Regions from separate parts of the Homo sapiens genome. Here all the other regions are linked to region 2. Evidence: promoter capture Hi-C in human tissues and cell types (Jung and others, 2019). All regions are on one chromosome and are shown on one strand. Each heading gives the region's core, a stretch centred on a gene start or on the middle of the fragment in contact. The rest is flanking DNA. Distances are from core to core; before and after follow the strand shown.

Region 1 (2,700 bases), core at 2-2,501, 1.1 Mb before region 2:
TGGGAGCACTCAGAAGTGAGCAAGAATGGCCTTGGGGCTAATGACATGGATAGTACTAGGTCCATGCCCCAAGTTCAGGGACTTCACTCAAAGGAGCCCCCTCAGTCTACACTTGGAGCCATGGATTCTTTCTTTTTATATAATGCTAATCGACTTGAAGATCTGGTTTCCTATCCCTGAGCAGACCAGATTCAATCAATTAGGAGTTACTCTGCCTCCTTCACTTTAAAAATCCAAACGTCTTTTAAGAAATGATGGTGTTAGGCACAGAAAGGCAAATATCACATGCTCTCACTCATGGGGGATCTGGAAAAATGGACCTCGTGGAACTAGAGAGCAGAACAGTAGTTCCTAGGGGCTGGGAAGGGGGCGGGGATAAAGATAGGCTGGTTAATGGGTACAAACACAGATAGGAGTCAGTTCTAGTGTTCCACTGCACAGTAGGGTGACTGTAGTTAACACTTTATGATATATTTCACAAGAACTAGAAGATGTGAAATGTTCCTAACGTAAAGAAATGATCAATATTTGAGGCGATGGTTGTCTTAAGTACCTTAATTTGATCACTACACATTGTATGCATGTATCAAAGTATCACATGCACCCCATCAATATGTACAGTTATGTGTCAGTAAAAATATGTTAATGATGGTGTTAATTTGATCATGGTGTAGAGCAGAGATATATGGTTGTTTCTAGGGAAAATATAGAATGTATACTTCAATGTGATAAATTCTCAGTTATGAAAGTGTTACTGTCATCCTCTTATTTTGCAGATTTGTTTGGGTATAACTGGTATCTGGGAAAAAATTAAAACTAGGTTTTAGATGGTTTTACAGAAGTTAATCAAAAGCTGTTTATGTGTTGTGTCAGAAATGTGCTGAATTGCAGTGGCTTTGCCACTGATAACGTCGTGTGTGTGTGTGTGTGTGTGTGTGTGTGTGTGTGTGTGTATTACATGATCTACACAGATTTTCTTAAGTAGTTTATTCATAATTGTCATGTGCTGTGCACATAAACCCTGTTAGTTATAGAGAGAAGCTAAAATGCGAGTACAACATTAACATGTCTTTTATTTTTCCATTTTTCACTCCCAGGTAATTTAGCCCAAGCTGAAGCAGTTGGAAGAGAGGCACTGGAATTAATACCTAATGATCACTCTCTCATGTTCTCGTTGGCAAACGTGCTGGGGAAATCCCAGAAATACAAGGTGCGTAAACCGCAGGCTGTGAGTTCTTGCAGTTAGTGCCAGCATCTGACAGAAGACGTAAGTGTTACTTCTGCCCAGTTAAATTAGGAATCAGGCCAAAACAGTGGCAGTGGTGCACCAATGTGGCTTGGCCAGTTTGTTTCCTGGAAAAGTTGCTTCAAAGACAGCGGTGTGGGGCCAAACCCAGTGTCCTTTCTCATCAGAATTAACCACTGTGGTTCACACGTGGAGAGAGGAAGAGAAGCCCAAGGAAGGGGTGGGAGCAGGCAGGGAGTTGTGGAATGTTTGGCCTCAGAGGCCGGGCAGGCTGGTGCAGGAGGAGGACTCAGGGCAGCCACAGTGCATCCCCGGAGGTGCCCCTGCCCCAGCCCCACCCTAGCACAACAGGGTTTGACTCTGTCACTTGCACATGGGCTGGAGCTCTAGGTTTTATCTGCAGGTTCCATCTTCTGCACAAAAGAATAACCAGCCCATGGAGGATGCATGACTGGTTCTTGCTGCTTCCAGGTTTTTCTTTATCTGAGTTATATAGGCCACCAGCAAGGCCCAGAGTTTTCTGACCAACAAAAACCACAAGATACTAAATCTTTGCTCCAGTTGGCAGCCAGGGTGGAGCAGGAATAGGCTATGCATAACTCCCTGTGTGTTGAAGGGGACTGGTTGTAAACTTTAATTTTGTCTATCAGAATCACTGAGGAAGCTTGTTAAAGTAGAGATGCCCAGATTCTCCCCAGAAGGGATTGGCTTCGTGGGTTAGGTCAGGTCAGGGAATATGCATTTTTTTGTTGTTTTTTTATTTTTTTTGTTTTTTTTGAGACGGAGTCTCGCTCTTTCGCCCAGGCTGGAGTGCAGTGGCGCCATCTCGGCTCTCTGCAAGCTCCGCCTCCCGGGTTCACGCCATTCTCCTGCCTCAGCCTCCCGAGTGGCTGGGACTATAGGCGCCCGCCACCACGCCCGGCTAATGTTTTGTATTTTTAGAAGAGACAGGGTTTCACCGTGTTAGCCAGGATGGTCTTGATCTCCTGACCTTGTGATCCACCCTCCTCGGCTTCCCAAAGTGCTGAGATTACAGGCATGAGCCACCACGCCCAGCTGGAATATGCATTTTTAGCTGGCATCCTGGGTGTTAAACACAGATATCACAGAAGCAGTGCCTTAGTCGTTTCTTAAGAGAAATACCTTTATTTCAGAATCAGGGGCTATATCTTATTTCAATCACTCAGCCTATGTATAAGACCTAAAGGCAGCAACTAGCTAATATCTGTCCAGTGTTATTCACTTCTCTTTTTCTGTTTATTACATGTCATTATCAGTATAATTTTCAATAACAATGGTAAGATAATTTCATGCATATCTCTAGTTTTATAATGTTGGGGAGTTGAATAGCTTCACTATGCATTTTTTAAATTTCTAGATTTTACTCCAGAAATAGCTTTTTGAAGAGGGCTTAGTTTTAGTTTTTATGAATCTACTTGTGTAGCAGGGGAAGG
Region 2 (2,700 bases), core at 95-2,594:
AACTTAATAAATAAGCCTATTTATAGATTGTAAACGTTTGTTGAACGATTATTTGAATTGTTGAAATCATTAAAGGTTTCAAAGAGATCCTCATCCCCCAAATGTTAAGTTTTAAATAAACTTAACGAAATAATTGTGTATGTATACTGTAAAGCCCTACACCATATAACCTAAAAGCAGGTTACTTTATTTACGCCTCTTTTACTAGCAATTAAACTGAAAACCTTGAGTGTGAATGTTGTAAGAGATCAAAGTTTTCAAGACTTGCCCTAGGAAAACACCAGTTTCTCCCACCATTTGCCCCTTTTAAGTGTTTAAAACCATCTCAGAGAAAATAGTGAGACCTCGTATCTTTTTTTGTGTATTAAAATCTTTTACACTTAAAACTCAGAAATCAAGTGCCTCAACCATTACAGCAACTCTTTATTAATGCACTTTGTGTGGCTCTGGGTGTTATACTCCACAAATAAGGAACCAACTTCTAATTGTGAAGCGAGATATCAAAGTCCTAGAAAGAACAAGCTCTCCTAACCAACTAGAAGGTTCCAGGAAAATGCAATTAAACAGGAAGCAATGAAGTTAAAAGCTAATGGAAACTGTTAACTAGGCTGAGTGTTGCTCACATGTAGGGAGTCGGTCACCCGCTTCCTCAGCGTACATGTTACAGGGCTGTGAGCGAACACTCACGCGTGGACCTGCATACATCCAACTCCAAAGCTCTGAGGCGTGAAGCCCAACTCCAAGGGCGCTCCACACGGTCCCTGTTCCAGGAAAACTGAATACAGCTGCTCGTGCCACTTGGCCCGCAAGACGGGAGGCGAGTCTGAGGCCCACTGCGTCCTCCAGAAACTACCCTTGCAAGGGCTGTTTCAGAGCCCCCCACCCACAGCCCAGCAGACCCCAAAAGCTTCTGGGGAAACTCAACCCCACCCGCTGCTACGCCCCCTTCCCTCGCTCCCACCCGAGGATCAGCTCCCCCGGATAGGGACGACTTCCCCTTCCAACAGTGCATCAGAGGGCTCGTCAGGCCTCACCCACCTTGCACTCGTCGCTCTTTTTTTCTTCGTCGCAGAAGTTGACGGGCGCCAGGCCGGGCAGGTAGAAAGCGCCGCTCCGGCGCGGGCCAGGAACCGCCCCCAGCAGGAGCAGCGACAGCAGCAACAGCCGCGGCCACCGAGGTGGAGACAACACCGGCAGCCTCGCGCTCATGATAGTTGTTTCGGGGAAAGGGCAATCAAACCTAGGGGGTCAAGAGGGAAGGAGGGGTGGGGAGTCTCGGAGACGACTACAAGGCCGCCAGAGATAAAGGAAGCCGGCCCCCAGAAGGCTAGTTCCGGTTGCGCTAGGAGACACCCCGGGTCCCGCAACAGAAACCGAAGCGGACCGCAACAGAGCATGCGCACCGCCGTCTGCACATGCTCAGTGAGAACGGTCGCAGGCACCAGGAGGAGTTTCCGGGAGGGAGCGGGGGCGAAATCCACTTTCCGGGTTTTCCGCGCGCCAGCTGAGGTGGTTGCTGGGAGAGGTGGTTGCTGGGAGAGCTGTTCCGGCGCTCACGTTCCAATTCCAAATTACAAATTCCGATCTAGAGCTCCCACGCTTGGGGGCTGTGGAGCGCTCGCCAGCCGCTCCCCGTTTGCTGCTGGGTCTTACGAAGTTCTCATATCCATCATACAGTTTCTTTGTCACACTGTCCGCGGCACGCCAGTCCCTATGACAGAAAGCACCTGCGGTCTGTCTGGAGGCGGAGTTGGTGGCGGAGAGAAAAAGTTCTGGAGACACCTGGTTGGGAGCAGGCTAAGGAAACAAATGGGGAGGAATTAGCCACAAATCCTCAAATAGACAGCTACTCAAAGGCATCTTCACGGACAATTTCCAAGCATTGGATGCAGTGGTGCATTCTTGCATTGGGCAGTGATTGTGTGCACACATCTCTTTAAGGGAGAGTGGAAATGGGGTGAGGAGGAAAATGGGAGTAGGATAGAGTGTAGCGTTGACATTTATTTTCTTTAAAGGAAGACCCGAGCATACCTGAGAGCTCAGTGAAGAAAGTAGTTCTGGCGAATCGGATTAATATGGTATGATCAGCCTTTAGCAAGATTCTATCACTTTTCCCACTGATGATGTGAGACGGTGTCCGCGTGTGTAAGTGCACACACGTGTGTGTGTGTGTGTGTTGCATCTTCTGAGTATTTTTCAAGGAGAAGCTTTTTAGTGATCTGAAAAAGTCAATTCAGTTAGCCACTAGAGTTCAATCAAAAACTTCGGAAGAGTGCATCATCTTAAAGTACATAAGAGAGAATCATGACCTCCAGCTCAGAATTCAAGAATAGGCAGGTTTGTGAAATAGTAAGCTCAGAAAGTTGAGGGCCAGTGAACTCCTATTTCAAGTTCTTGCGGGTGTTTGTACTTTTTTCCCAGGTAAGGTTTATAACTTTCATCAGATTTTCAAAGGGACCTAGGACCCTGCAAATTGATCCATATAGTGGGGTAGCCAAGTTAATCAAGAGAACTGGGAAGTAGAAAAGAACGTTCATCTTAAGGTTGTTGTGAAGATTAAATCAAAAATGGAGGGAAAGTGCTGAGCACATAGCTTGGCCCAAGGAATGGCACTTTTTTTTTTTTTTTTGATAACAAAAACTAATCTGGTAGGGCCTGAGCAGAAAATTGTGCCTAGGTGGCTTCCCTTTCATGTCCTCT
Region 3 (2,700 bases), core at 79-2,578, 1.1 Mb before region 2:
AATTTGAGGACAAAAATACCTATGAATGGACAATAATTTGATGCAGAAAGCTTAAATTCTACTGTGTGGTGCATGGTAGTACACACATTTTTATCACCTGCAATTTCTCTGCTTGTGAGTCCTTTCATCAGAGTGGGTAAACATAAATCTATATGCTTTTAAATTGGCAGTTAAGAAAACCTGTTAATATGCACTGCTGCATATTCTTCCAGAAATCTAAGTATGTTTGACGAAGTGCTGTAACTGTAGGTTAAGATGGATAAGGCAGGATGTGGTTGTGTTTTCAGGGGTCATTTGGAAGCAGTGTTCAGACATAATGTTATTTGAATGTGTTTAAACCACTTCTGTATTTCAAGATTTTATTAGTTTTCTCAGGCTGCTATAAACACACACACACACATACACACACACACACACACACACACACACACACACACACATACACACAGATTGGGTGGCTTAGACCACAGTTAATTTTCTCACTGTTGTAAATGCTGGAATTGTCACATCAGGGTGTCAGCAGGGTTGGTTTCTTGTGAGGCCTCTCTCCTTAGCTTGCAGACGGCACCTTCCCCCTGTGTCCTCACGTGGTGTGTCTTCTGTGCACACATATCTCTGGTGTCTGTGTCCATATTTCCTCTTTCTGTAAGGACGCCATTCATACTGGACTGGGGTCATATGGATGGGGGCCCAACCATATGACCTCATTTGACCTTACTTACCTCTTTAAAGACCCTATCTCCAAATACATTTTCATTCTGGGGTGCTGAGGGTTTAATGTAAACTTTGGGGGACAATAACATATAAAAAGAAATGTGATTTTACTTAGGAAAAAGGCCAGTGGTATGAATGAGTGGATCTAGAAAGTGCCTCGAGCAGTCACCCTCATCTTCCCCCAGCACTGTAATCAATGTGTATTATCTAGTGGGAAGAAACACAGGCTTCAGAGCCTGGTTCTAATCCAACTTCACAGCCCTAGATGAGACGCTGAATGGCCCCGAAGCAGTTTATCAACTCAGAAGAGAGGGTCACAGCAGCCACGGCCTCGAGCCACCGTGAGGAAAGACCGCGATCACACAGCACGCAACACCGCTCCCAGCTGGTGGGTGCCACTCAAGGTGTGCCAGCTACACACCATCTTACCATTCACCGTGACTGTTGTTAGCAGCACCCACACTTCATGCTTCTGATTGAGTGAGTTTCTGTAGCATCGTCTCCTCTGGGCTTGCTACTCACTTTGTATTGTAAAGTCCCGAAAGGAGCTTTTGATCATCAACAAATACTTTTCTTTTTCTTTCACTTTTTCTTTTTCTTTTTGTGAGACAGAGTCTTGCTCTGTCGCCCTGGCTGAAGTGCAGTGGCATGCTCTTGCCTCACTGCAGCCTCCAACTCCTGGGTTCAAGCGATTCTCCTGTCTCACCCTCCCAAGTAGCTGAGATTACAGGCGTGCACTACCACACCCAGCTAATTTTTGTATTTTTAGTAGAGATGGGGTTTCACCATGTTGGACACGCTGGTCTCGAACTCCTGACCTCAGGTGATCTACCCATTTTGGCCTCCTGCAGTACTAGGATTACAGGCATGAGGCACTGCGCCCGGCCAACAAATTCTTTTTATTGTAGTCTTCGTGAGCTTGTGTAGTCTGGCTGCCTTAGGCTTAGTTCAAGTCCCCACTTTTTTCTTTGTCATTTATTCTAAGCCCATGTTTAGTTGAGAAACTACCAGACGTTGGCTTCCCTGATGCCCTCGTTCCAAGGTGACCTGAGAATTCCTAGTAGATTGGCAGCTGGGAGCCCCATTCTATCCAGCCTACTTCACCCCCTCTTCAGTCATTGAAAATCCTTTCCTCATTCTCTCTTTTTTTTAAATGGAGGTAAAATTCCTATAACATAAAACTATCCATGTTAGTACCTCAAAAAATTAAAAACAGAATTCTGTGATCCAACAATTCAATTTCCAGGCAAATATCCAAAAGGACCGAAAGCAGAGACTCAGAGAGATTTGTACACCCATGTTCACAGCAGCGTTATTCACAATAGCTAAAAAGTAGAAGCTACCCAGGTGTCCATCCAGGGACAAATGGACAAACAGAATGTGGTGTACTCATGCAAGGGAATATTATTCAGCCACAAAAGGAAGGAAATTCTGACACATGTGACACAAATGGACAAATCCTGTACAATTCCACTTACATGAGGCACGTGGGAGTCAAATGCATAGAGACGGAAAATGAATGGAGGTTGCCAGGGTCTGGTGGAGGTGAGAATGGGTACAGAGTTTCAGATTTGCAAAATGAAAGAACTCTGGAGATGGATGGTGACCATGGACTTCCACGTCAGCCTATCCTGTACCCCTAAACAAGGCTGGTCACCCATCACATCTCTTGAAAGTCATCACACCCATTCTGTCCTGAATGTTGGGAACCTACCACTTGTTCTTGACACTCTTCCCTCTCTCCTATCAGTTGGTCACCAATTTGTATGCTTTTTGCTTCCTCACTGTTCTTCAAACCCCTCCACAGATTCACCACCACCCTAGTTCAGTCTGCTGACCTCTCTCCTAGGACTGCAGCCACAGCCTCCCTGGAGCCCCTGACACCTGCTTCTCCCCCACTCACATCTCTTTCCCACCACGGGATTTGTTTCATATGAACATAAACATGGTGGTGACCTCTGCCACCCTCCCACCCCTGGCTTCCTG

Evidence for each region. Contacts are between HindIII fragments. The study calls those that stand out against the background at their distance.
Region 1: a fragment that was not itself captured here is called in contact with the fragment with the promoter of TM9SF2 in region 2 in 1 of the 25 tissues and cell types used here (dorsolateral prefrontal cortex).
Region 3: a fragment that was not itself captured here is called in contact with the fragment with the promoter of TM9SF2 in region 2 in 1 of the 25 tissues and cell types used here (dorsolateral prefrontal cortex).

Annotation. Positions count from the first base shown.
Region 1 is chr13:100,610,908-100,613,607 of GRCh38, reverse strand. It overlaps TMTC4 (transmembrane O-mannosyltransferase targeting cadherins 4), which reads left to right. Exons shown (of 19, transcript NM_032813.5): 17 at 1,098-1,210. Among named protein-coding and RNA genes, the nearest start is that of GGACT, 23 kb to the right of the region's middle. The HindIII fragment of the contact is 6,599 bases long and covers 1-2,700 here.
Region 2 is chr13:99,500,116-99,502,815 of GRCh38, reverse strand. TM9SF2 (transmembrane 9 superfamily member 2) reads right to left here and starts at 1,344. Exons shown (of 17, transcript NM_004800.3): 1 at 1,039-1,344. The coding sequence starts at 1,209. LINC00449 (long intergenic non-protein coding RNA 449) reads left to right here and starts at 1,753. Exons shown (of 2, transcript NR_133664.1): 1 at 1,753-2,421. RefSeq lists enhancers at 964-1,552, 1,459-1,638. The HindIII fragment of the contact is 7,318 bases long and covers 414-2,700 here.
Region 3 is chr13:100,627,768-100,630,467 of GRCh38, reverse strand. The region is part of intron 12 of TMTC4 (transmembrane O-mannosyltransferase targeting cadherins 4); the gene reads left to right. Among named protein-coding and RNA genes, the nearest start is that of GGACT, 40 kb to the right of the region's middle. The HindIII fragment of the contact is 3,249 bases long and covers 1-2,700 here.